4 separate regions of the Homo sapiens genome follow, and regions 1, 2 and 3 are each linked to region 4. Evidence: promoter capture Hi-C in human tissues and cell types (Jung and others, 2019). All regions are on one chromosome and are shown on one strand. Each heading gives the region's core, a stretch centred on a gene start or on the middle of the fragment in contact. The rest is flanking DNA. Distances are from core to core; before and after follow the strand shown. Region 1 holds the start of CAPNS1 (calpain small subunit 1). Region 2 holds the start of OVOL3 (ovo like zinc finger 3). Region 3 holds the start of FFAR1 (free fatty acid receptor 1). Region 4 has its middle 8.9 kb from the start of ZBTB32.

Region 1 (6,977 bases), core at 643-3,142, 440 kb before region 4:
TGGAGGGCTCACTTCATAGAGGCTCTGCCCCAGCTTCCCAAGGCCTTATCCTCCTCAGGTGCCATCTGCCCAAGACCCTACTCCATGGCCCGCTTCCTAAATGCCCGTCTTCCCAACATCCTACCCCAGCCATTGGTCCCCGCCCCTTCAAGGGATCACTGCTAAGTGGCCGTGGCTAATTAAGCCAACCTGCCCTATCCCTACCAGGGCATTTTTCTCCATTAATCCAGCCAGTTCCCAGCAAGCCCAGCCCATTCTGGGCCATTTACCCTACCCCATTAGGTCTTGCTTCCTCCTGGGCTCACCTCCTCATTAACCCACCTAAAACCTCTGACCACACTCATAAGTCAAGCCCCTTCCGTAAAATGTCACTCAGACGCATTGGCTCCGCACCTTTAACGTTCATCTCCAGGTTAGCCAATGCAGGCTGAGCCCAGACCCATAAGCCCCACCCGCCAAAACTCCACATCAGTCCCCTCAGGACCACATTGTCCTGGTCCCACACAATCAGACTACTCCCATATCAAGCACCGCCCCCAATGACTGATATCCGCCTCACTGGGGTCCACCCCCTTACAGCAGAACTCTCAAACCAGGCCTCCCCGGCCTAATTCATGTACCCAGGTTAGCCTCCAGGTTAATCCTATTCTATTTTTAGACCACGCCCCTCCCAGACCACGCCTCACTGAGGCTCCTCCCATTCCCAGGCCCCGCCCCTCTGATAGTCTCCGCCTTACCTGATGGCGCTGATGACTCCGCCTAGGATGCGCATGGCCGTTCCACCGCCACCGCCGCCTCCACCACCGCCGCCGCCGCCGCCGCCGCCGCCGCCGCCCCCGGCCCCGCTGATCAGGCCTCCAAGCACATTTCCCAGGCCCCCACCCAGGCCCCCGCCTCCCCCGCCGCCGCCGCCGCCGCCCTTCAAGAACGAGTTAACCAGGAACATGGCTGCGACTCACTGCTGGGGGGAAAAAAGGGGACCAGTGGGTGCTTCGCCCCTGAGCCCACACCCTCCCTTCAAACACGCATTTCCGGCAGCTGGACCTGGGAGGAATCTGAAGCCTCCGGGTGGGGGTCTGAGTTTGCGAGGGCGGGTTGTCCGCGGATGGGTGGGGCAGGTATGGGGGATCAGGTTTGCAACCTCCTCAGGTCTAAAAGGCACCCGTGGGGCTTGAGGGAGCCTGGACTGGGTGCACGCGTGAAGGGGAGGGTGCAGATCTGGTGGGGGTTCTCTTGGTGGGGACCCCAAGTTGGCGTAAGGCGTTCCCGACATGTCTGGGCGCTAGAATGTGAGATCCAGAGCCCAGCCTGAATGTAGAGGTCCTTGGCAGGTCATGGGCGCGGAGCAAACATCCACGGCCTAAAGGGCCCCAGGGCGGGGTTTAGGAAATCCCAAATGTGGGCTTGAGAATTTAGGTATTCCCAGCGGCAGGATTCCAGTGTCACCTCTGGCTCTGTGGGCTCGGGTCTAAGATCGTGGCTGTGAGCTCTGGGTTCCCGGACAATGGGGTTCCCCGCTGGAACTGGGGGCACAGATCTACGATCGCGGTTCAGGACACCCCAAGGAAGAATTCACAGGGTATCTCTGAAACCTATGGGCCTGTATTTTGGATCATGAGACAGAGGGTGGAGAAGGGTCCCCGGGACGGCATAAAAGGAGATCGAACAGGTCTGAGGGTTCGAATCTGAGACCATGGATCTGGGGGGCTCCTGAGGCCGAGACTTCACGGTTTCGCCGGGTCTGGGGGCCGCCAAAGTCGGAGTTGCGGGGTGCGGAGGGGGTACGGGCCGGGCGCTTACCGCCGCACACGTCCGGAGTTCTGGGAGTCGGTTCCACTGCCGCTCCCGGGCCTCCCGCAGCGTCCGGCTCCGGAGGGCGGGGCCGGTGACTCAGGCCGCAACTCTCGGGTCGGACACTGCACCGCGGCCCTGCTGTCGCCCGCGCGGTCCTAGAGCCGAAGCGGACATTGCGCATGCGCACCCCACACCGCCCGGCTAGCTGGATCCAGGTCTGGGCCCCGCCCTACGCGTTTCCAGCGCCGGAGGTCTTAATCCCGCCCTGACTCGGTAGGCGGGGGTCTTCCCGACACCCCTCAGGTCTGGGTGGAGGCACCCGCGGACGAGAACTCGGAGGGGACCCACCCCCCGAGTGTCGTAGTGTGAATTTTCACCCTAGGGCATGCCAATATCCTTCCAGGGTGGCGGTTTTCGGTCCGCTCACTAAGGGACTCCGCACGGGCCCTCTGCAGGTGTTGTCGCGACAAACACCTCCTGGAGGCCTGGAGTATGGTTTGACTCACACGCTGGGGGACAGTCGCCCGTGTCTGTGGCGAGGATTGAGGCTGGATTGCCTTTCCCAGTGCCTGCAGCAGCCCGGATGGCAGTCAAACCGCAGGCAGCGCCTGCGCCGCCTCCCAGGCGAACCTTACCACGCCCCCGCCCCAGTCAGGGGCCACCAGAATCATTCCTTCCTGGACTGGCCCAAAGAGTGTCCTCAGTATGCTAGCCTCTAAAGAAGGCCCCAGACACAGGAAGATTCCTTTGGCCACGGCCTGGTTTCTTTATTTACTTAAAAAATATTATTGTTTTTACATAATAGAGACGGAGGTCTCGCTATGTTGCCCAGGCTGCTCTTGAACTCCGGGCCTCAAGCCGTCCTCCTGCCTCAGCCTCCCAAAGTACTGTGAGGTACTGGGATTACAGGTATGGGCTACCGGCCTTTTTTTGATTTAATTTAATTTTTTACAATAATATTTTTACATAGCCTGGTTTCTTTTCTTTTCTTTTCTTTTTTTTTTTTTTTGTTTTGAGACAGCGTCTTGCTCTGTTGCCCAGGCTGGGGTGCAGTGGCGCCATCTCAGCTCACTGCAGTCTCTGCCTCCCAGGTTCAAGCGATTCTCCTGCCTCAGCCTCCCGAGTAGCTGGGATTACAGGCATGCACCACCACACCCAGCTAATTTTTGTATTTTTAGTAGAGACGGGGTTTCACCATGTTGGCCAGGCTGGTCTCAAACTCCTGATCTTAGGTGATCCACCTGCCTCGGCCTGCCAAAGTGCTAGGATTACAGGCATGAGCCACGGGAGTCCAGTACTTTTTCAGGACTCATCGGGGGGAGCTAAATCTGGCCCCCAGGCAGGCTGGCTGGCTCTTATCCCCTACCCTGCAGGCTGGCTAGGCTTGAGTTGAATCCTGGCTGTGCCCTGTAATAACTGCACAACCCCAAAAGAGTGGCTTGATATTCCTGAGCAGCGATTTTCTCATCTGTAAAATGGGAACATGGGTTGCTCCATACCACTAGGCCCCCTATCAAAATTAAATGATATCTGCAGCAATACTGATTATTAAAAAAAAAACTTAAGTGGTGGCTGGGTGAAGTGGTTCATGCCTGTATTCCCTGCATTTTGGGAGGCTGAGGCAGGAGGATCTCTTGAGCCCAGGAGTTTGACTCCAGCCTGGGCAATATAGTGAGACCTTGTCTCTACAAATAATACAGAAATTAGCTGAATGTGGTGGCATGCGCCTAGTCCCAGCTACTCTAGAGACTGAGGTGGGGGGATCACCAGAGCCCAGGAGGCGGGGGTTGCAGTGAGCCGAGATCATGCCACTGCACTACAATCTGGGTGACAGAGCGAGACTCTGTCTCAAATAAATACTGGGCACAGTGGCTCATGCCAATAACCCCAGGACTTTGGGATGCTGAGGCGGGCAGATCACCTGAGGTCGGGAGTTCGAGACCAGTCTGACTAACATGGAGAAACCCTGTCTCTACTAAAAAATACAAAATTAGCCGGATGTGGTGGTGCATACCTGTAATCCCAGCTACTCGGGAGGCTGAGACAGGAGAATCGCTTGAACCCAGTAGGCAGAGGTTTCAGTGAGCCAAGATTGCACCATTGCACTCCAGCCTGGGCAACAAGAGTGAAACTCCGTCTCCAATAAATAAATAAATAAATTGGTGATAAATGCTTTGTAAATGCCCCCATTAGCTCTGTGTCTGTGCTCATGCTGTTCCCTCAGCCTCGAGGCCAGCTGTATTCCTCAGCTGGTAGACTCTTAGTCTTCCTTAAATAGTACAAAAACAGGCCAGGTGTGGTGGCTCACGCCTGTAATCCCAGCACTTTGGGAGGCCGAGGTGGGCAGATCACTGAGGTCAGGAGTTTGGGACCACCCTGACTAACATGGTGAAATCCTGTTTCTACTAAAAATACAAAAAATCAGCCAGGCGTGGTGGCGTGTGCCTGTAATCCCAGCTACTCGGGAGGCTGAGGCAGGAGAATCGCTTGAACCCGGGAGGCAGAGGTTGCAGTGACTCGAGATCGTGCCATTGCACTCTAGCTTGGGCAACAAGAGCGAAACTGTCTCAAAAAAAAAAAAAAGATACAAAAACAAGTAACCATCAACCACTCCTCCAAGTGCTTGACGTCCATCAGTTCCCTTGTTCTCCTAACAGCCCTGTGACATAGATGCTATTTATTATCCCCATTTTACAGATAAGTAAACCGACTCTGAGGTTAAACCCAAGCAGTCACTCTCCCTAGCCTGTATCCTTAACCACTACCCTTATGCGTTAATAATATAATTAATATAATAGGTCAAATAACAACATCACAACAGACAAAACTAGTTGCAGCTGATGTTTCCTGAGGCCTTGCTGGGGCCAGGCCAAGGTAACTGCTACACAAGCCTTGTCTGCAGGGCAGGAGAGAGAATGGAGATTCTGAAAGGCAGGGTCACGGAGGGTGGCAGAACCAGATCTGAACCCGGGCTTGGCACAGATCTTTTGGTGATGACTAATCCAGATTCCCTTCTCACCACACCCCTCCCTGCCAGACTGACTGCTCCAGCTCTCTGCCCTCTCCCGAGGCTCACTTGCTGCCAGCCCTCATGCCCTCGGCCAGGAACTCCCCTGCTGCCTTTTTTTTTCTGGCCTGATTGTGTAGCTACTCAGGCTGCAGGTGTCACCTCAGGAGTCATCTCTTCCAGAAAGACCTCCCTGTCTCCACCCAACCTGAGACTAGGTGAGGCTTCCAGTTATATGCTTTCAAAATGACTTGTACTTTCTCATGGCACTCACTGCCAATCGTAACCATATTGTCATCTAGTTCTGGCCCCCAACCCCTTATTCCCGGCAGCCCCAGGTGTTAGGTCTCTATCCTCCTCTCTGTACCACTCATGCCATGGGGTGCCTCCCCTACATGCACAGCTTAAATCCTGTCTCTAGGCTATCAACGCCCAGTTTTTTGTTTTGTTTTGCTTTCGAGATGGAGTCTCACTCTGTCGCCCAGGCTGGAGTGCAGTGGCGCGATCTCTGCTCGCTGCAAGCTCCGCCTCCCGGGTTCACGCCATTCTCCTGCCTCAGCCTCCAGAGTAGCTGGGACTACAGGCACCTGCCACCACGCTGGCTAATTTTTTGTATTTTTAGTAGAGACGGGGTTTCACCGTGTTAACCAGGATGTTCTCGATCTCCTGACCTTGTGATCCACCCGCCTTGGCCTCCCAAAGTGCTGGGATTACAGGCATGAGCCACAGCACCCGGCCAACGCCCAGTTTTTTGTGTTGTTCTTAGAGACAGGGGTTCTGTCACCCAGACTGGAATGCAGTGATGTGATGTAGCTCACTGCAGCCTGTAACTCCCGGCCTCAAGGAATCCTCCTCCTGCCTCAACCTCCTGAATAGCTACTGCTACAGGCACAAGCTACCACGCCCGGCAAACATCCAAATTTCCTTTATCTTTTTTCTTTTTTAATTATTTGTAGAGATGAGGTCTTACTGTGTTGCCCAGGCTGGTCTTGAACTCTGAGCTCAAGTGATCCTCCCACCTCAGCCTCCCAAAGTGCTAGGATTACAGGCGTGAGCCACTGCACCTGGCCCTAACCCTAACCCCCAAATTTCTATCTCCAGCCCAGACACCTCCTGCGAACTCCAGGCTCCTACATCCTGCATCATATTCACCATTTCCATGGGAAAGGATGGAAGATCTCAGAGGCTTTTTTTTTCCTTTTTCTTTTTCTTTTCTTTTTTTGAGACGGAGTCTTGCTCTGTCACCAGGCTGGAGTGCAGTGGCGCGATCTCGGCTCACTGCATCCTCCACCTCTGAGGTTCAAGCAGTTCTCCTGCCTCAGCCTCCCGAGTAGCTGGGACTACAGGCATGCGCAACCATGCCCAGCTAATTTTTGTATTTTTTAGTAGAGACGGGGTTTCACCATGTTGGCCAGGATGGTCCCAATCCCTTGACCTCGTGATCCACCCGCCTCAGCCTCCCAAAGTGCTGGGATTGCAGGTGTGAGCCAATGCACCTGGCCCTTAGAGGCATTTTAAGCTTTACATATCCTAAACTGAGCTTCTGACCTTCCTCCAGAACCTGCTCCCTCACTACCTTCCCCACCTAGGTCAGTGGCAGCTCTGTCCTTCCAGTGACTGAGGCCAAACACTCCGGGGTGGTCCTTCACCTCTCTCCTTCACACCCACTCCAACCTGTCAGCAGATATTATTGGCTCCACCTACAGAAACTAAACTCTTCCCCTCCACTGTCCCCACCCTGCCACAGCCTCCATCCTTTCCCACCTGGACACCCCACAGCCTGCTCCCTTCTGTCTGCTCCCTGCTGTCTGCTCCTCTTGTGGAGCCAGAGGAAGCCTGAGACCACCTGAGTCAGGTCAGGGCCCTGTAGGCTCAGAGCCCTGCCCTGGCTGCACCCCACTCCAGGAAAGAGTCAGAAGTTCTCACAACAGGGCCAGGTGCGGTGGCTCATGCCTGGAATCCCAGCACTTTGGGAGACTGAGGCAGGAGGATCGCTTGAACCTAGGAGTTTGAGACCAGCCTGGGCAACATGGCAAGACCCCATCTCTACAAAAAATACCAAAAACTAGCCAGGCATGGTGGCATGTGCCTGTAGTCCCAGCTACTCGGGAGGCTGAGGTGGGAGGATCACTTGAGCCCAGGAGGTAGAGGCTGCAGTGAGCCTTGATTGCACCAC
Region 2 (6,707 bases), core at 33-2,532, 420 kb before region 4:
CCTCAGCCTCCCCACGATTACACGATTGTAGGCATGCGCCACATGCCCAGTTAATTTTTTTATTTTTTGTAGAGATGGGGTTTCACCATGTTGGCCAGGCTGGTCTTGAATTCCTGACCTCAAGCAATCCACCCACCTTGGCCTCACAAAGTGCTGGGATTACAGGCATGAGCCACTATGCCCGGTCTATTTTTCTAATTTTATTGTTTTTTTTGAGGGGGGATGGAGTCTAGATCTGTTTCCCAGGCTGGAGTGCAGTGGCGCAGACTCGGCTCACTGCATCCTCTGCCCTGCCTCCTAGGTTCAACTGATTCTCCTGCCTCAGCCTCCTGAGGAGCTGGGATTACAGGCACGTGCCACCATGTCTGGCTAATGTTTGTAATTTTAGTAGAGACAAGGTTTCAACATGTTGGCCAGCCTGGTCTCGAACTCATGACCTCAAGTGATTCACCCGCCTCGGCCTCCCAAAGTGCTGGAATTACAGGCTGACTAATTTTATTGTCTATACATGCAGCCCCAACCAGAATATAAGCTCCATAAAATTGTGGATTTTTGTCTTATTCCCGCTGAATATAACAGCCCATGCCTAGAACAGTGCCTTGCTTTCATGAATATATTACATTCCGGCTGGCGCTTTCCTTCCTCCAATGCATGCACAGCTGAAAAAGCCCTTATCTCCCATCGCACTCCTGTTGCCTTGTCCCATGTTCTGACATAAAGCGGATCATCCACATGTGGGGATGAATCTTGTGCCCCGCTGGAAGAGATCCCTGTGGCTGCCGGCCCTGGTGCCTGGGGTGAGACCTAACAGTAGAGAGCTCACTACTAGGAAAGGAGAGGCATTCCCAACACAGAGAAGTAGGGGCGGACAGGTCCCGAGGCTGGAGGGCGTGTGCAGATGGGTCGGGGGAGCAAGGGGCTGTCAGCTTCATTAAGGCTGAGAGCAGGCAGGAGCGAAACAGCTGGCTTTGCTAGCCAGTTACACACTCACCGCTGTCCACGGATCCCTGACACTGGACGACTGTTGTGCCGGTGGCCCCCCCAGGCTGCTGCAGTCTGAGGAGAAAAGCCAGATGGTGACACTGCGTCTCTCCTGCCCCTTACCTCCAGGCACAGTGAGGGGCCCACCTGGGATATAGGCATCTCCCCGGAGCTGGTCAGGCAGATGGCCCCAGTTGGGGGGCTGTGGACGCCGACTCCTGACCAGGAAGGCGCGGGGCATGCCCTCCGGAAGGCTCTCCACACACAGGGGCTGCTTCCACCTGCTGTCAGACCTCAGCCCCAGGATGACTATCCCTGGTGGGAAAGGAGGGGAAGCCTCTGAGGAACCTCATTCTCTTCATGCAAATTTCCTGGCTGGCCCTGGGAGTGGACTAAGCTGGCTCAGGTTACCCCTGCCTGGGGACCTGCCCATCTTCTCCCAGGTTTTGGAGGGAACCATCCAGCCTCCAGGGGTGGACAAGCACTAGGACCACCAAGCAGAGCCAGGCAAGGGGAGATGGGCCTGGGGAGCTTTTGAGGATAGGAAGAAGAAACAAGGCCCCAGGGGGACTGTCTCCCAGGGGTTGAGGGTCTGTTTGCCAGGCAAATCAGTCACCAGGGGACATCCAGCAGCCTGCCTGGTTATTCAAATCACAGCAGCTGTCTGAGGACACTGAAGGGGCCCCCTGCTGTGATTGCCCTGCTCTGTAGGGTGCAGGGAGGACAGCAGATCTGGATAAATCAGGGCAAAATGAGGATCCAGGCTGTGCATCCTCAGGTAGGATGCCCCACCTCTCTGATCTTCAGATTCCCAGGGCTAACATTCAGCCAGAAGCACTGTTCAGGTGTAGCAGGCACTAAAATACTAGTTTGTTAATAATCTAGCCCCTAGTTACTGCCTGGGACAACACTCTTCCTCCCTCCCACAGTCTGGAAAGTAAAAGGGGGTCTCCTATTTTTTTTTCTTTTTTTGAGACGGAGTTTCACTCTTGTTGCCCAGGCTGGAGTGCAGTGGCACCATCTTGGCTCACTGGAACCTCCACCTCCCGGGTTCAAACGATTCTCCTGCCTCAGCCTCCTGAGTAGCTGGGACTACAGGCATGCACCACCACACCGGGCTAATTTTTGTATTTTTGGTAGAGACAGAGTTTCACCATGTTGGCCAGGCTAGTCTTGAACTCCTGACGTCAAGTGATCCGCCTGCCTTGGCCTCCCAAAGTGCTGGGATTACAGGCATGAGCCACCGCACCTGGCCCAAAGGGGGTCTCTTGACACAGCCAGGGGCTCCCAGGACCCTACCCCGGCACACTGGCCAAGCTGTTTTACACTTGATTCTTAGCCAGAAGACTAAGAAGCAATCCAAGCTCTGTTTTTTAATTTTTTTTTTTTGAGGCGGAGTTTTGCTCGTTGCCCAGGCTGGAGTGCAATGGCGTGATCTTGGCTCCTCTATGACCTCCGCCTCCTGGGTTCAAGTGAGTCTCCTGCCTCAGCCTTCCAAGTAGCTGGGATTACAGGGGCACACCACTGCACCCAGCTGATTTTTTGTGTTTTTTGTAGAGATGGGGTTTCACCATGTTGGCCAGGCTGGTCTCAAACTCCTAAATGCAGGTGATCCGCCCGGCTCAGCCTCCCAAAGTGCTGGGATTACAGGCGTGAGCCACCGCGCCCAACCTGTTTTTATTTTTTTTGTTTTGTTTTGTTTTGTTTTTTGAGACAGATTCTCACTCTGTTGCCCAGGCTGGAGTGCAGTGGTACGATCTCCACACACTGCAGCCTCCGTCTCCTGGGTTCAAGCGATTCTGCTGCCTCAGTCCCCCAAGTAGCTGGGACTACAGGTGCGCACCACCACACCCGGCTAATTTTTGTATTTTTAGTAGAGATAGGGTTTCACCATGTTGGGCAGGCTGGTCTCAAACTCCTGACCTCGAGTGATCCACCTGCCTCAACCTCCCAAAGTGCTGGGATTACAGGCGTGAGCCATTGCGCCTGGCAACTAAACAATTTTCTAAGCTCCAGACCTAGCTTACTGAAAATGATCGCGTAAGTCCATGAAGGAGGCACACCAGTGACAGCCCAGAATGACCAAGACAGTGAGAGGCAAGTGAGGCAGAGACCCAGCCATGATGGGGAAAAGAGGGGTACCTGGGGACCCGAACAGGCTCCTGATCCAGGCTACGGGTACAGGGATGGCTTCCTGGATAAGCGCTGAAAGGTTTCAGATGAAAGGGGAGGGTGTTCTAGTCAGAGGGGGACATCTGTACAAGGCTTGCTGGTGAGAGGAGTATTTCTTCATTTCTTTACATTGCCCGAGAGTCAGTTGTGCCAATTCATTTGGGGAAGCAAGGGTGGCAGTGCTGAGGGTCTGCTGGCCATGCATTTCCGCTTGCTCTCTGCAGGACCCAGAGCAAGTCATTTCTCATTGGGCCTCGGTTTCTTCACCTGGAAAATGAGACTAAGGAATCTCCCTCTTCCCAGTTTGTATTGAAGATCCATGTAGCTCACATGGAGAGAATGCTTAGCATGGGGCCTGGCATGTGGCAGACATATAAGCAGGGATTGGTTAGGAAGGTTTTTTTTTTTTTTTTTTTTTGAGACAGGGCCTTGCTTTGTCACCTAGGCTGGAGTGCAGTGGAGTGAACACAGCTCACTGTAGCCTCAAGCTCCTGGGCTCAAGTGATCCTCCCACATCAACCTCCCAAGTAGCTGGGACTACAGGCGTGCACCACCACACCTAGCTAATTTTAAAATTTTTTGTAGAGGTGGAGTCTTGCTATGTTGCCTAGGGCTGGTTTTGAACTCCTGAGCTCAAACCGTCTGCCTGCCTTGGCCTCCCAAAGTGTTGGGATTACAGGAATGAGCCACTGCATCCTGCCGAGGAATCCCTCCTCTGGGCAAACATCCAGGCCTCAGGTGGGTCATCTGCAAAATGGGGTTTCAGGTGGTGTCTCCATTTTGCAATTGTTGGCTTTCCTGCAGCCCTGACTGGGATGCCTGGCACGGGCCTGGCAGCTCAGGACCCAGGAGCTGTCCTGATGGTACTGCTATGGGGAGGCCAAGGGTAGATGTGGGGGTAGAAGCAGGGGGGGAGTTGCAGTGAAAGATGAACTGTTTTCCTTCCAGGGACCCAGTTCCCCAGGAACCCTCTCAGTCCTGTTCTGCCCTGCTCCATGGCCTAGGAGGTTGACTGGAGGCGGGGTCACCTGGGCTTCTATGCACTCTGGCTTCCAGTAGGATTTGGACAATGGGGTGCCCTGCAGGAGGGGAGTAAGGTCAGGGTGTTGATTCTCACTCCGTCCTGTGTGGGAGTCAGGGCTGCAGCTCCCTCAGCACTACCCTCTCCCTGGGATTTGCTCTTTTGGGTTCTTGTTCCTTCTCTTTGTGCCTTGTGGCCTGGGGGTGGTAACAGCTCCCAGGGTGCCAGTCCTGGGGTTCTGCACCAGCCTCGGTGGTTTCCCAGTCCCTGCTGCTCCTTTGCAAATGATCCCTTGGTTAAACTCTTTGGAATATCCCATCTAAGCATGCTGTCATCTTTCTGCTGGGACCCTGTCAGCTCACAAACCACATGCACACATGCTGCACCACCAGCAGTGGCTTCTTAACCAGGTGGTTTATCCTGGTTAAGAAGTATGGAGAAAGTATGGTCCTTCCAGGACAGAGCCTGGCATTTGGAAGAGGGAAGTGGCAGACATGCTGGATCCTCTCTGATTACCAGCCCACTTGCCTTTCTTATTGAGAGAACCTCTTTGTTTGAGCTGCAACATGCCCAGGACAGGAGAGATGGTCCAAGCACATCAAAGCAATCTCCATTCCTGTTGCCTGGGACTCATCTGACCCCAGATGAGTCTCCCAGGGAGACCCCTGGGAGAGATCTGCATCTTTTCTGCTGCCCTAGAGGGTGCCCTGCTCTGTGCCTTTGCTCCTGGTTGGACCAGGCCACCCAGCAGCTGGGACCAATAACTTGGGCCTCTGACCCTCATGTCATTGTGCACCTGGCCTCTTCCTCTCCTGCTGTCACCCTCTGTGAGCCCCCTGCACTCCACATCTAACCTCAGCCTCCCCATAGCAGTACTATCGGGGCAGCTTCTAGCTCCTGCGCTTCCAGGCTTATGCCAGGCACTTCAGTCAGGGCTGCAGGAAAGCCAACAATTGCAAAATGGAGACACCACCTGAGGGTGTGCTGCTGGGTGCCACAGCAGCCGTGTTGCAACCATGAGGCCATAAGCTGGAGACTGAAGCTTGCTCACAGAGGATAACAGAGCAGGAGAGGAAGAGGCCAGGTGCATGATGACATCAAGGGTAACCAACGTCCCTCCATCTTGGGCCCTGAAAGCCAGGTGTTTACTCCTTGGAGCAGAAGACTTTACTATGATACAGGTTGGAAGGAAGGGTAATTCCATGCATGACAGAGGCCCAAGGTGGTCTCCTGGGTGTCCGAGGCCTGGGGGGCTGAACACCAAGCTTTGCCCAGGGATGTTGGGCAAGGTTTTGGGCAATGGTGGCCGAACTAGGCAGATGGGCCTAGGCCTAGGCAGGTGGTTCAAGTTCTGGACCACCTGGACTCCCTGAGGCAGAGTCGTGAGAAATAAGCAACACTGGATATCCCCCAAACATTAAGAGCAGAGATTTAGAAACAAACCCAAAAACAAAAAACTGTTCTGGATATTCCTTGGACTTAAATGTTATGAAGCAACAAGGCCCTGCTCCTCCTTGCACCTCAGCTCCTGCCCTCCCCTTGCTCACTCCATTCCAGCCGTCCGGGCTTCGCTCCTCTTGCTTCCACACAGATCACGTGTGGCTGCCCCAGGCCTGTGCACTGGCTGTGCTGTCGGCCTGGATGTGTTCCTGAGATGTCCTCTATCAAGCTTCAGCCCAAATGTCACCTCGAAAGGCCTTCCCTGACCCTTCACCAGCAATGGATCTCCCCAACCTATCTAGAATTATACAGAGCTCTAATTCCTGCATCTGTTTGACTGTATAGAAGGTGAGTGGCCATGAGGGCAGGTGCGTTGCCTGATGTTCCTTCTGCTACAGTGCCCGGCACCTGGGTGGGAACTGGCAGGATTTTTTTTTTTTTTTTTTTTGAGACTTGCTGTGTCACCCAGGCTGAAGTACAATGATGGTGTGATCTCAGCTCACTGAAACCTCTGCCTCCTGGGTTTGAGCGATTCTCCTGCCTCAACCTCCTGAGTAGCTGGGACTACAGGTGTGCACCACCACACCCCAGCCAAGAGTGGCTTTTTTAGCAGACACCCCATGTGGCCAGATGCCTGCTGTCTGGGGGAGCTGGTAGCAGTGCTGGGAGCTCGTGGAATGTAGAACTTCTGAAGGGGAAGCAGTTATTGGTCCCAGCTGCTCGTGGCCTGGGCCTGCTGCCAGGATCATACAGTGGGCAAGCCTGCCTGGGTTTCTTGTTTTATTTTGTTTTATTTAAAGAGACGGGGTTTTGGCCAGGTGCGGTGGCTCATGCCTGTAATCCCAGCACTTTGGGAGGCCGAGGTGGGCGGATCTCCCAAGGTCAGGAGTTTGAGACCAGCCTGGCCAACATGGCAAAACCCCGTCTCTACTAAAAATACAAAAATCAGCTGAGTATGGTGGTGGGTGCCTGTAATCCCAGCTACTCGGGAGGCTGAGGCAGGAGAATCGCTTGAACCCGGGAGGCGGAGGTTGCAGTGAGCCAAGATCGCACCACTGCACTCTAGCCTGGATGACACAGCAAGATTCCATCT
Region 3 (6,397 bases), core at 3,898-6,397, 350 kb after region 4:
CAACTCCGTAGCCTTTGCCCATCACTGCGGGACCTTGCATTTTCCCTCCCCGGCTGAAGCATCTTTTCCTGCCAGCCTCCGTTCCAAGCTCCAAGGCTGCCCCCTTGCGAGTTTCACATGGTATAACAGCGTCATTATCCTGCCTCCTGCCTCCTCTCCTACTCGGAAATCAAATGTTCTCTCCTGGGAACTGATTTCAGAGTAGCTGTCCTCAAGTGCATCACCGGAGTGGCAGTTCCTGTGGGTCAGAAACAGACTGCCTCCTCCTTCCCGTAAGTACAAGGCCTCTGCTCGCGGCCCACGGAAGACAGGCAGGTGAGGACGTGCAGAGGGGAGAGAAAGATAGGCGAGGAAGGGACAAACTTCCTCGACACGTGCAGGGGCAAACTTACCTCCCCCTGCCACCGTGCTCTGGCTCGGTGCTCCTCTCTTGACTGGGGTGCTGCCCTCAGCAGGCGCCGCTCTCTGCTTGAGTGGCTCCAGGGAGGCCTCCGGGCCAGGCTGCCCTGCAGTTCCTCCGAAGCAGCCCCCCGCAGGGGCCTGGAGAAGCAGCCGGGCCCTCCTGCCCCATGCTCCTTCCCCCGAGCAGTGGCGTTACTTCTGGGACTTGCCCCCTTGCGTTCTTGCCGCACACACTGTCTTCAGGCCAGGACCCCTTCCCAAGTAACCGGTCACCAGCGGATTAAGCACCACACTCCAGGCACCCGTGATGAGCCCCAGCTTCCGCCAGGAGCCTCCTAGATTGGGGTACAGGAAGCTGGCCACGTTGGAGGCGTTGTAGGGTCCTACGCAGAGCAGCAGCGTGAGGAGGGCCCCGCCGGCCACCCAGGCGGCCCGCAGCTTCCGCCTGTGCGTCAGGCCGGAGCGGGCCAGTGCCCGGAGGCAGCCCACGTAGCAGAAGGCTGTGATGGCCAAGGGCAGAAAAAAGAGCAGGAGAGAGAGGCTGAAGCGGGCCGGGCCGGCAGAGGCCGGGTCCCAGGCCTCCAGGCAGACCGGAGAGCCGTTGACCGGTGTGTTGATGCCCAGGGAGGTGTTGCTGTGGTCCAGCCAGCCTCCTGGAGCCTCCAACCCAAAGACCAGACCCAGGTGACACAGGACGAGGGCCCAGATGGCCGCGCACACCCCCCAGGAATAGCACGGCCTCCGGAAGGCTTGGTAGCCCAAGGGGAAGGCTGCTCCCAGGTAGCGGCCTGCACTCAGGGCGGCCAGGAAGCCCCCGCCGGCATAGAGTGGGAAGAAGTGGGCCACCGCGAAGACGGGGCACAGCGAGGCCGGCAGAGGCCAGGCCCCGGAGGCTAGCGCCTCCACCGCCTTCAGGGGCAGAGAGACTGTCAGCAGCAGGTCGGAGCAGCCCAGGTTCAGGGCGTAGACCAGGCTAGGGGTGAGACGGAGCCGGGCGTGGGCCGTCGCGCCTCGGATGGCCAGGACGTTGAGCGGGAAGCCCAGCGCAAAGGCGGCCACATAGAGGCCGAAGGAGAGCTGCGGGGGCAGGTCCATGGGGCCGCCGTCCTGGCCTGCACGGCTCCTGTGTGCAACCTGGCTCCCTGTCCTCAGATCTTGGGGCCCCGGAGAGGAGGGGCTCCTGGGATCACTCGCGGGTTCCAGCCCTGTGTGGAGAATTACAATTCACCTGGTGGGATCAGGGAGGAAACGAGGCCCACAGAGAAAGGCAGCAGTCAGGGAGCAGCGGAGCCTGGATGAGAAGCCAGGACCTGTGGCCCCCAGTCCTGTGCTTTCTCTCCACCATGTCACCTCTTAAAACCAGGGAAGCTCCTGCAGCGTCACAGGAGATAGGATGTGGCGCACAGGTCCCAGAGGAAGAAAGCTTCTCGATTTCTGAGACTCTGTGGGGAGGAGGGGTGGAGAGAATTCAGAACAGGGCTGGGCCCACAGCCTGAGCCTTCCCTGGGAATGGGAGTTTGACTCCTGAGCCCACTGCCCTCCCTGGTTCCCTGGCAAGGCAGGAGCTGCCCCCACCCCCCACCCACATTGGAAAGCCGGCGGGGCAGCAGGGAGGAGAAGGGTGTGGATAAGGTGAGGGTGTGGCCAGGGACAGGAAAAGGGGGTCCCCCAGGGAGAGCCCAAGGGTCAGCCAGGCCCCATCCATGTCACGGTTGAGCTTAGCAGTTCTCAGGGGCCACCTGGGCAGGGGGTCTGGGGGTCTGGGGAACAGTCAGGTGAAGAGAGGAGCCACAGAGAGAGGGACCCACCTCCTGGTGCTGCCAGATGTCTCTGAGGCTCAGCAGTCCCCTCAGCGGGCTGATGGAGGATGCCCGGGATGGGCAGTGAGCCGGAAGGGGAGGAGGGCGGGTGACAGGGCCATTAGCCTGAGGTTCTAGCAGCTTGGGTGAGCAGCTAATGGGGCATCCCGGCTGGAGGTGAGGCCACGCCAGAGGAGGTGAGGGGCTGGGAAGATGCAGGAACACAGAGGGGCCAGGGAGGAATTGGGGTCCTGTCTGGGTAGGGGCCGAGTGTGTAGCCAGTGCCTCTCAAGAGCAGGGCTTGGGGGCTCGGCCACAACCCAGCGCTATTCCCTCCCCAGCCCTCCTGCCTGTTCACACCTGCGCTGGGGCCAGGTCTTCTCCACCCTTGATGCACCCCTGGGCAGGTCCCGGGCCTCACTGGCTCACCCCTGACAACACAGGGTGCCCTGTGACTGCAGCCATGAAGCCATCTCCAAGTGGCAGTGGGTGTGTGGGGTAAGGAGTGATCACACCCGGGTGCGGTTCTGCACAGGCTGTGGGCTTGTTTTAGTTTTTGCGAGGAGGGCCCCTCTGTTCTCCCTCTGCTTCCGCACTAGCCCCATGGTGGTGGCTTCCGACCTTCCCAGGGCTGGAGGAAGGAGCGGGAGGAGGAAGGCAAGGGGCGGGGGCAGCCTCTGCTGACCAGCACTGGAGGGCCCAGGTTGTGGCCCCCACTCTGCCTGTCAAGGGGTGGCACAGATGTCCAAGCCGACTCCCCCCAGGGTGCATGGCTGGGGACACTGGGGGACACTCCCCAAGGCACAGGGAATGTGGCACCGGCCGGCTGCGTAGCTTCCTTCTCTCAGCCCTGGAAGTCCTCCCAGCCTTTCATGTTTCCCACTGGGGTCACCTGAGCCTCCCAGGAGGACCTAAGGAAGATTTCTAACCTCTCTGGATGCTCTCTCAGGTGTGCCCACGCCTGCTGGTGAGAAGCCAGCTCTGCTCTGTGATTCTGTCTCTGTCTCTCAATGTGCCCGTGTCTTTCTGTCTGTCTGTCAGTCTGTCTCTATTTCCTGCCTCAGAATGACAACACAGCTCTCCACATCAGTTTTCTCAGGCGTGTATGGGTCACCTGACCACTCTGCCCCTTCCGAATTCCAGGTCCCCCATCATAAACCTCTCTCTGTGTGGCCTCCTGGCAGCTCTGGTCACCAGGCTTCAGGGGGGACAGCAAGGGGGTCTCAGCCTATCACTAACTCCCTCAAAGACACCATCTCACTGCTTTTCATACCTCGGAGCCACTAAATTGGTCCATGCTCGCCTTTTTCTCGAGAGCAGCACCTGGGGTGCAGCGCCCGCTGTGAGCGGAGAACTGGCCTCCTACTGTTCAGTGTGTTGTTGGGAACTGAGAAATGGACAGAATGGAGGAAGAATCCACAGCAGTGTGGTTTCCCCTCCTGCAGCAAGAGCGAAGCCCTGGGGAGCCATTGGGTTTTCCAGATCTTCTCTGCTTTGGCCCCACCCACCTGGCGTCTGGATCTTTGCCCAAGGTCACCTTCTCCGAGGGCCTTCCCGGGTGCCTCAGCCACACTCATCCCTCCTGTGAATCTCACTTTTGTTGTCTTTCTTCAGTGCGACATCGTCTTGGCTGGCTCCTGAGCTAGAATGCCGGCCTCCTGAGGGCAAAGGCTTTGGTCTGCTTTGTCTACTACACGTTGCACAGCAGGTGTTTGGGAACCTAAATGCACGATCCATTGTCTGGACCCTGGGAGGACTGTGAGAGCTGGGGTTGTGGAGGGCGGCCTGCGTCTGGAGTCCTGGCCCCCTAGCTTCCTGGCCACCTGCTCTTCACCTGCTCTTCACGCCTCAGCAATGTCTATTGATGGCCATATCTCATGGTCAATCAGCCATGTAGTAGGTTTATGTCAGCAGCTGTGCTGAGGGACAGGGTGGGAAGGGGAAGATGCTCGATGGTTGCCAGGGAGCTTAAGCCAGGCCCTTCAGGCTTAGGACTGCCTCAGCTCCCTCCAGGGTATCTTGCCTTAAAAACCCTTGGCGGCTCTCGACTAGAGATCCCCAAGGTTGGTCCTACGCCTTATCTTTTTGGTGTCCTAACAACTGGCTCTGTACTGGGTGCATTTCCAGGTGCTCAGTATCTGTGTGCAGAATGAATGAAGAAAGAGTTGAATGACACCAGACCCCATTTTGGGCACAGACACCCCAACACCCTCCTGTCTCATTTAAACAGTTTTTGTTGTTGTTGTTTTGAGGCGGAGTCTCACTCTGTTGCATAGGCTGGAGTGCAGTGGCGTGATCTCGGCTCACCGCTACCTCCGCCTCCCAGGTTCAAGCGACTCTCCTGCCTCAGCCTCCCAAGTAGCTGAGATTACAGGTGTGAATCACCACGCTCAGCTAATTTTTGTATTTTTGGTAGAGACAGGATTTTACCATGTTGGCTAGGCTGGTCTTGAACTCCTGACCTCAGGTGATCTGCCCACCTTGGCCTCCCAGAGTGCTGTGATTACAGGCGTGATCCACCACGCCTGGGCTTTAAACAGTTCTTAAAGCCTCACCTTCCTCCAGAAAAGTTAATGGTGCTCACAAGAATCAAACCAGGGACAAAGTGGATTGATGGGGCGATCAAGGCCTCCCTGAACCATAATTCCTAGAGTTACCGTCCGGGTACTGAGCAGAGATGGGAGGGAAAGGAAGGTGGGAGAGGAAGGTGGCAGTTTGGGGACACCTGCCACGTGCCAGGAGCCAATCTCCCTGATGATCAGATAATTACACCCCTGCCCTCTAAGGAGAATGGGCTTTAGCCCCTTTGCAGAAGCAGGTGAATGGGTGGAGAAAGATCAAACCCGAGAAGCGGAGAGGGGAGCTGGGGCACCTAACTGGAAAGTCTGAATCAGTGAACAGAATTAGAGAACGGGTGCAGAGGACCTCGAATGACAGAAAAGCTGTGAGGTTTCTCAGGGTGGCTGGTCTTCAAGACTTTCTCTGGCAGCTATGGGTTGTGCAAGAATTGGGTAGCGTCACTTTTGGGAAGAGCTGTTTTGAATCGGCTTCCCCTTTTCACATTCTTCGAAAAATGCAAATAAAGGATGGAGGTTGGTTTTCTGGGGGACTTTCGGCTTCTGTGCTGGGTCTCAATGTGGCTCCAGCATATAGAAGACGATGCCTCACTTCCTATCGTGGGCCACCTGCGTGGTAGGCAGTGGCCTTTCCCTCTCCACTTTACAGATGGAGAAGCCGAGACTCAGGCAAGCTGGCGAGCCCTGCCAAGATCACCGGGCTAGTTAAGCCGAAGAATCAAGATTCAAGTTCTCATGTTTGTCTGTCTGCAAAGCCAGTATGCTTTTCCTAACAAGACACCAGACTCTCTAATCTGCTGGTTTGATCAGTAAACCACTGTGACTCCATTTCCTTCCCCCCAGGCCCCATGAAGACTTTCCCCTCTCCTCATCCCCACTCTGACTCCACAGACTGAAAAGAGTTCACTGGTTCTTTGAAGTGGCATCTGAGCCATTTTTATTGTGAGCTCTGTCTCCCTGGCAGGTTAATCCACACCAGTGTGTCCATCTCAAACCCGGAGTCCCCAGAGTCAAGGGGCCGCTGATACGTACGTCTCCCCGTGCAATGCCTCACTTCCAAAGGAGAAGCCAGGCCAGGACTGGGCCCCTTTCTACTTCGTTTCTGTCCTTTTCTGGGCTTTCCCTCAGAGGCAGAAACTGGGCATAATATTCGTGAGTGGGGATGTCAGATCAGGGGTAGAGGGCCAGAGAGATGGAGAAGGGAAGGAAAAATGATGACGAGCAGATCCCAGGAGGGACACAAGCAGCTGGGGGTGGAGATGGCCAGTGGCCGTGGTGGGGGCAGGGGGAGGTGTGCATGTCAGGGCAGGTATTTAGATGGATTTCTGGGTAGCAAGGAGAGTGGAAGAGAACAGGGGCAGGAGTTTTGGAGGTTTGGGGTTACCCTCACCAAAAAGACTGGCTCTGAGCCAGGCACAAGGTTCTCCGCAGTGAGTGTGTGTGTGTGTGTGTGCGTGTGTGTGTGTGTGTGCGCACATGCGCGCAGGAGGAAGCCATGTGGCGGTGTCTGGGGAAACTCGGGGACTTCCCTGGCCCCCGCTGCCCCCAGTGCCTCTGCTGCAGCCCATCCAGTGTCAATGTTTGAGGATCACATAGTCCACATTTTCTTGTGCCTGAGGC
Region 4 (7,235 bases), core at 2,730-5,229:
GTCTCAGCCTCCCGAGTAGCTGGGATTACAGGCATGTGCCACCACACCTGGTTATTTTCTTTCTGTTTTAATAAGCTGGTCTACAATACAGGTTTCCTGTGTTTTGTTTTTTTAGAGATGGGGTCTTGCTGTGTTGCCCAGGCTGGAGTGCAGTGGCTATTCACAGGTGCGATCGTAGCACACTGTGGCCTCAAACTCCTAGCCTCGGCGATCCTCCTGCCTCAGCCTTCTGAGGAGCTGGGACTACAGGCACATGCCAACATGCCCAGCTAATTACTACAAATTATTGAATCCTTTTTATGGGCCAGGAAGGCATGAGAAGATGGAGTGAGGGACCCTGGGCTCTGGCAAGATGGTATAGGAAGGGTTGTTGGCTTGGCTTGGGGGGTTGGACTGTAAGATTTGGAGAGTTAAATGTCTGAAAGAAGTAGAAAAATAAATAAAAAGCCCCTGCCTTCAGTTGCTTATTGAGCAACTCCCCATGCCAGATCCTACACTAACTAAGCTTAACTGTACACTGAGAAGCAGAGAGCCTTGCAGCCTAGGTAGCTGAATGCTGGATCCAAACTGTCTGCATCATATCCTGGCCCTGTTATTTACTAGTTGTGAGACCTTTGGCAAATTGCTTAACCCCTCTGGGCCTTAATCTCTTCATCTGGGCATATTAAATGGTCATATCATAAATGGGCATATTAATAGTACATATTGGCCAGGCATGGTGGCTCACACCTGTAATTCCAGCACTTTGGGAAGCCGAGGTGGGCGGATCACCTGAGGTCAGGAGTTCGAGACCAGCTTGGCCGACATGGTGAATCCCTGTCTCTACTAAAAATACAAGCCTGTAATCCCAGCTACTCGGGAGGCTGAGGCGTGAGAATCGCTTGAACCCAGGTGGCAGAGGTTGCAGTGAGCTGAGATCATGCCACTGCACTCCAGCCAGGGCAACAGAGTGAGACTATGTCTCAAAAAAAAAAAAAAAAAAAAAAAAGGGCTGAGTGGCTGAGTGCAGTGGCTCATGCCTGTAATCCCAGCGCTTTGGGAGAACGAGGCAGGCAGATCACCTGAGGTCAAGAGTTCAAGACCAGCCTGGCCAACACGGTGAAACCCCATCTCTACTAAAAATACAAAAATTAGCTGGGTGTGGTGGCAGGCACCTGTAATCCCAGCTACTCGGGAGGCTGAGGCAGGAGGATCGCTTGAACCTGGGAGGGGGAGGTTGCAGTGAACTGAGATTGCACCACTGCACTCCAGCCTGGGTGACGGAGCGAGACGTCATCTCAAAAAAAAAAAAAAGGTACATACTCCCGGTCGTGGTAGCTCACATGTGTAATCCCAGCACTTTGGGAGGCTGAGGTGAGAGGATTGCTTGGACTCAGGAGTTCAAGACCAGGTTGTGCAACATGGCGAATCCCCATGGCTACAAAAAATACAAAAATTAGCCAGGTGTGGTGGCACACACTTGTAATCCCAACTACTGGGGAGGCTGAGGTAAGAGGATCACCTGAGCCCAGGAGGTAGAAGCTACAGTGAGCCATGATTGCAACACTGCACTCCAGCTTGGGTGACAGAGTGAGAACCTGTCTCAAAAAAAAAGAAAAAAAGTGTGTACCTCTCAAAGTCATTGAGGGGATTAAATGAACTAATAGAGCAGTGGTATTTCTTCTTCTTTTTTTTTTTGAGATGGAGTCTGCCCTCCAGGCTGGAGTGCAGTGGCGCGATCTCGGCTCACTGCAACCTCTGCCTCCTGGGTTCAAGCGATTTTCCTGCCTCAGCCTCCTGAGTAGCTGGGACTACAGGCGCGGGCCACCACGCCCAGCTAATTTTTGTATATTTAGTAGAGACGGGTTTTCGCCATGTTGGCCAGGATGGTCTCGATCTTTTGACCTTGTGATCCACCTACCTCGGCCTCCTAAAGTGCTGGGATTACAGGCGTGAGCCGAATAGTGGCATTTCTTCTGTTCCCCAATGCCCTGTAACCGAGTTGTTTCCTTGCAATCAGTGTCATCTGCCTTGGCTGTGGTGTAGACCCTGAAAATTAAGGGATCATGGGAAAGCCTGGGGGCAGTGTGTTCCCAGAAGCAGTAGCAAGCGCAAAAGCCCCAAGGCAGGAGTGAGCTTAGTATATCTGAGGTACAGCAGGAAGTCCACCTGGAGCCAGGCAGCTGACTAAGACTCAGGAGCTCAGCTCAACGGCACGAGTGTTCATAACAGATGTGAAAATAACCCTGTACCTTTCAGAGAACAAAGGACTTTCCCCAAGCTTTGATCTCTGGAAAAACCCCAGACCATGATTACATTTGAGGCTCAGTGTCCACAGTTGCACAGGAATGAAGCTTAGAATTCAGGTCTTCTAGCTCTCTAGGGCCCATGCGTCAAGGTCAAGAAACTTACTTTCACTCAAATATTTATTAAACTCCTGGCCAGGCGCAGTGGCTCACACCTGTAATCCCAGCACTTTGGGAGGCCAAGGTTGGCTAATCACTTGAGGTCAGGAGTTGGAGGCCAGCCTGGCCAGCATGGCAAAACCCCATCTCTACTAAAAATACAAAAATTAGCCGGGCATGGTGGCGGGCGCCTGTAATCCCAGCTACTCAGGAGGCTGAGGCACAAGAATCGCTTGAACCTAGGAGGCAGAGGTTGTAGTGAGCTGAGATTGGGTCACTGCACTCCAGCCTGGGTGACAAGAGCGAAACTCCATCTCAAAAAAACAAAACAAAAAATTCTGATGGTGCATGCCATTGGTGCTGAGCCCTGGGGAAGACCCAGCCCCTGCCTTCAAACATTTCACCTGCTAGAGAGGAATTAGACCTCAAAACATATTCTTCAAGAGCCAAGTGGAAAGTGTAGGAACTGAAGCTGAGAAGAGGCACTTAAGCTAAGGGGAGAAGGAGTGGAGAAGGGTGAGGGACAGCTTCCCACAGGAGGCGATGATGTTTGTGCATCTTTTTGGGGGTACTTACTATGTGCTAGGCATGGTGCTTGGTAGAAAGGACACAGTGGGAAGCAAAGAAGAGACTGAATGTAATGGTCTGCTAGGGCTGTGTAACAAAATATCACAGACTAGGGGGCTTAAACAACAGACATTTATTTCTCACAGTTCTGGAGACTGGAAGTCCAAAGTCAAGGTGCCAGCAGGGTTGGTTTGTCCTGAGGCATTTGTCCTTGGTTTGTAGAAGGCCACCTTTTCACTGTGACCTCATATGGCCTTCCCTCCGTGTGTGTGCACTCCTGGTGTCTCTTTCTATAAGGACATCAGGGATCAGGGCCCCACCCTTATGACCTCACTTAACCTAAGTTCCCTTCTTTATTTTCTTTTTCTTTATTTTATTTTATTTTTGAGACAGAGCCCTGTTTTGTCACCCAGGCTGCAGTGCAGTGGCAGGATCTTGGCTCGCTACAACCTCCATCTCCTGGGTTCAAATGATGCTGTTTTGGCCTTCCAAGTAGCTGGATTTAGAGGTGCCTGCCACCACGCCTATCTAAGTTTTGTATTTTTAGTGAAGGCCGGGTTTCACCATGTTGGCCAGGCTGCTCTCAAACTCCTGACCTCAAGTGATTTGCCTGCTTTGGCCTCCCAAAGTGCTGGGATTACAGGTGTGAGCCACTGTCCTGGCCAGTTTACTTTCTTAAAGTATCTGTCTTGGGCTGGGCGTGGTGGCTTACACCTATAATCCCAGCACTTTGGGAGGCTGAGGTGGGAGAATCACTTGAGGCCAGGAGCTCGAGACCAGCCTGTCCATCATGGTGAAACCCTGTCTCTACAAAAAGTACAAAAATTAGCCAGGTGTGGTGGCGCACGCCTGTAATCCCAGCTACTTGGGAAGCTGAGGCAGAAAATCACTTGAGCCCAGGAGGTGGAGGTTGTAGTAAGCTGAGATTGCACCACTGCACTCCAGACTGGGCAACAGAGCAAGACTCTTGTCTCAAAAAAAAAAAGGCTGGGTGTGGGGGCTCATGCCTGTAATCTGAACACTTTGGGAGGCCGAGGTTGGCGGATCACGAGGTCAGGAGATCAAGACCATCCTGGCTAACACGCTGAAACCCCGTCTCTACTAAAAACACAAAAAATTAGCTGGGCGTGGTGGCGGGTGCCTGTAGTCCCAGCTACTTGGGAGGCTGAGGCAGGAGAATTGCGTGAACCCAGGAGGTGGAGCTTGCAGTGAGCTGAGATCGCACCATTGCACTCCAGCCTGGGACACAGAGCGAGACTCCATCTCAAAAAAAAAAAAAAAAAAAAGTTAACTGATGTACCCTGAACCAGAGTTGTTTTTAGACAACAAATATTGCTTGTCTTGACTCTGGGTACAGATATATATATATGTATCTTTTCTTTTTTTTTTTTTTGAGACAGGGCCTTGTTCTGTTGCCCAGGCTCCTGGCCTCAAACAATCCTCACATCTCAGCCTCCCAAAGTGTCCTCAATTTTCTGAATGGATTTTTATGAGAGGAACTTTAATACCAGGGATCCTATTTTGGTCATTTTGTCCAGCAGGGCTGGGAGCAGCTCTTCAAAAAGACCATTTTCTTGTCCCTTTACCTTCCCTGTTTTGCATGATTCTGTTTCCATTTGTAGAGGATCTGAGAAGGCAGCTGATTCTGTGAGAAACAATGATTCTACTTCATGTTTTAAATAGATCTGTTGGGTTAAGTGACAAGTCCCTAGCTAGACTCAAGAAGGCACTGGAGAGCTATGGTCCTGCCACTGTACTCCAGCCTGGGCGACACGGTGCGATTCTCATTTTCTCTCTCTCTCTCTCTCAGACAAAGTCTCCCCCTATTGCCCAGGCTGGAGTCCAGTGGTGCTACCATAGCTCACTGCAGCCTCGAACTCCTGGGCTCAAGTGATCCTCCTGTCTTGGCCTCCCAAAGTGAGGGATTACAGGTGGGATTACAGGTGTGAGTCACTGTGCCTGGCTGAGACCCCGTCTTTTAAAAGAAAGGGGAAGGGGGAGGAGAAGGGGTAGGAAGAAGGAGGAGGAGGAGGAAGAAGGCGGAGGAGGAAAGAGGAGGAGAAAGAGAAAAAAGGAGGAGGGAAGAGGAGGAGGGTGAAGGAAGGAGAAGGAAGAAGGAGGAGAAAGGAAGAGGGATGAAAGAAAAGAGGAGGGAGGAAGAGGAAGAGGGAGGAGGAGGAGGAAGGAAGAGGAGGAGGGAGAAGGAGGAGGGAGGAGGAGGGAGGAGGAGGAGGGAGAAGGAGGAGAGGGTGGCAGTGGAGGTCACTCCCTATAATGTGGAGCATAGCAGCCACCTGCTGGTCACAGCGCAGTAGGAAGAACACAAAGCCCTGGAGTGAGGCAGAGGGGCCCTGGCTCCTCAGTGGCTCTCCAGCGCCCTCTATTGACAAAGCCTAACCTGGCACCAGATGACAAATGGAACTGAGAGGTAATAAATTGATAACCCACAGGTAAGTGATGGGGCCCCTGCTATTAATAAAAACAACAGTAATAATAACGACTACCATGGAATTCTCAGTGCTGTCTGTGTCATTTATCCCGGAATCGCTGGTGAAGGTTGATGGGGAGGGGGGATTGTGGTCCATTTGCCTCCAGGGTCGGCTCACCCTTCCCTAGGCTCAGGCTTAGGGTCTGAGCCTGCTCTGGGCAAGCACCCTCTCCCTCCTCCCAGACCAGACCCTATAGATGGAGCTGACTCCATCCCTGCTCCAAGGGCAGGCGTGTGCCCCGGAATCTGCACTTTCCCCAGCCCCACACGTGATGGCACAGCACAGTGTCAAACCTAGACAATGAAAAACATTCCAGAGGGGGCACCAGGCCCTCTCACCGTTTTTTGCTTTGTTTTGTTTTGTTTTTGTTTTTTGAGATGGAGTCTTGCTCTGCCACCCAGGCTGGAGTGCAGTGGCACGATCTTGGCTCACTACAACATCCACCTCCCAGGTTCAAGTGATTCTTCTATCTCAGCCTCCTGAGTAGCTTGGATTACAGGCACATGCCACCACATCTAGCTAATTTTTGTATTTTTAGTAGAAACAGGGTTTCGCCATGTTAGCCAGGCTGGTCTCGAACTCCTGACCTCAGGTGATCTGCCTGCCTCAGCCTCCCAAAGTGCTGGGATTACAAGTGTGAACCACCATGCCCAGTCATCTTTTTTTTTTTTTTTTTTTTGAGACTGTTATCTGGGCTGACAGAGTCAGTGGTGCCATCTTGGCTCACTTCAGCGACGACTGCCATACTCAAGTGATCCTCCTGCCTAAGCTTCCTGAGCAGCTGTGATGCAGGTGCTTGCCACCATGGCCAGCGATTTTTAAAAATTTTTTTATTGTTTTGTAGAGACAGGGTCTCACTATGTAGCCTAGGCTGGTCTCGAACTCCTCAAGCGTTCCTCCCGCCTTGGCCTCCTAAAGTGCTGGGATTACAGGCGTAAGCCACCGCGCCCCCCCGCCCGGCTAGGTTTTTGTTTTGTCTTTCATTCTTTTATTTTTCTCCTTAGCACTTATTAGCCTCTAACATGTGTTTTTCTTATTGGTTTTATCTATTTTCCCCTCTAGAAGGTAAGCTTTATTTATTTATTTATTAAGCTCTTTTAAATCTGGGAAGAGTTCCTGTAAGCTTTATTATCTGATTCCCAGGAAGCTTGTAGCCATTTTTCTAACACCAGCCAAGGACGCGGGGACCAGAGAGGAGGAATTGGTGGGCGTGGGACACCTGAGGAAAGGGCAGGGGTGTGTGTTTTTACGTTTTAGTTAAAAAAAAAAAAAAAGAACCAACTTGCCCTCATGGAAGGAGTGTAAGCAAAAGTGGATGTAGTCAGAGGCATGTGCCTGGCTTGATTGCTATATAACACAGTTTCTTATTTCCATTCTGTGATCTCAGATGGTGAGAGAGAGAGCTTGGCTCAGTGGAGCAAGAGAGAGAAAGAGATACCTGGAGAGGTGGCAAGGGGCCAAGCCACACGGGCCCTCAGTGCGAGGTGAGGAGGGCGCTGGAGAGCCGTGGAGGGTTAGAGGCTGAGGAGGGATGCAGTCACCTGGGGTGTGGGGGGAACAGCCATCAAATGGCTGCCTGTCCCTCAAGGGGTCCGGGCCCTGACATAGCCCTGACCTCTTTGCTCCCCTCTTACCCACAGGAGCCGGCCTCTGAGTTTGGGGGCTGGGGCGGACAAACCTGTCCTGCAGGCAGGCCCGCCTGGGTGAGGCCACGCTGCTGCCGGTCTGACTGAGCCACACTCTGCAGGTATATGGTAGGATGGAGCCCGAAAGCCAAGTGGCAGATGTGGGTCAG

The links. The method cuts DNA at HindIII sites, captures the fragments that hold promoters and counts their contacts. A contact is called where the count stands out against the background at its distance.
Region 1: a contact is called between the fragment with the promoter of CAPNS1 here and a fragment that was not itself captured in region 4, in 1 of the 25 tissues and cell types used here (pancreas).
Region 2: the fragment with the promoter of OVOL3 here is called in contact with a fragment that was not itself captured in region 4 in 1 of the 25 tissues and cell types used here (pancreas).
Region 3: a contact is called between the fragment with the promoter of FFAR1 here and a fragment that was not itself captured in region 4, in 1 of the 25 tissues and cell types used here (lymphoblastoid cells).

What each region holds. Positions count from the first base shown.
Region 1 is chr19:36,134,981-36,141,957 of GRCh38, reverse strand. CAPNS1 (calpain small subunit 1) reads right to left here and starts at 1,892. Exons shown (of 11, transcript NM_001749.4): 1 at 1,801-1,892; 2 at 738-961. The coding sequence starts at 946. LOC105372385 (a long non-coding RNA gene) reads left to right here and starts at 1,976. Exons shown (of 3, transcript XR_935954.3): 1 at 1,976-2,067. RefSeq lists enhancers at 1,426-1,485, 1,576-1,625. The HindIII fragment of the contact is 11,049 bases long and covers 1-6,977 here.
Region 2 is chr19:36,105,718-36,112,424 of GRCh38, reverse strand. It overlaps OVOL3 (ovo like zinc finger 3), which reads right to left and starts at 1,282. Exons shown (of 4, transcript NM_001302757.2): 1 at 1,129-1,282; 2 at 992-1,056. The coding sequence starts at 1,222. It also overlaps a transcript of WDR62 not described here. RefSeq lists enhancers at 423-1,052, 1,053-1,683. The HindIII fragment of the contact is 22,945 bases long and covers 1-5,641 here.
Region 3 is chr19:35,346,652-35,353,048 of GRCh38, reverse strand. It overlaps FFAR1 (free fatty acid receptor 1), which reads right to left and starts at 5,147. Exons shown (of 2, transcript NM_005303.3): 1 at 2,211-5,147; 2 at 1-1,844. The coding sequence starts at 1,497. The coding sequence ends at 595. It overlaps CD22 (CD22 molecule), which reads right to left. Exons shown (of 14, transcript NM_001771.4): 14 at 5,688-6,397. The coding sequence ends at 6,352. RefSeq lists enhancers at 1-863, 2,653-2,792, 2,833-2,882, 5,296-5,375, 5,976-6,075 and a silencer at 3,817-4,017. The HindIII fragment of the contact is 9,647 bases long and covers 1-6,397 here.
Region 4 is chr19:35,692,013-35,699,247 of GRCh38, reverse strand. No RefSeq gene overlaps it. Among named protein-coding and RNA genes, the nearest start is that of ZBTB32, 8.9 kb to the left of the region's middle. The HindIII fragment of the contact is 5,192 bases long and covers 1,384-6,575 here.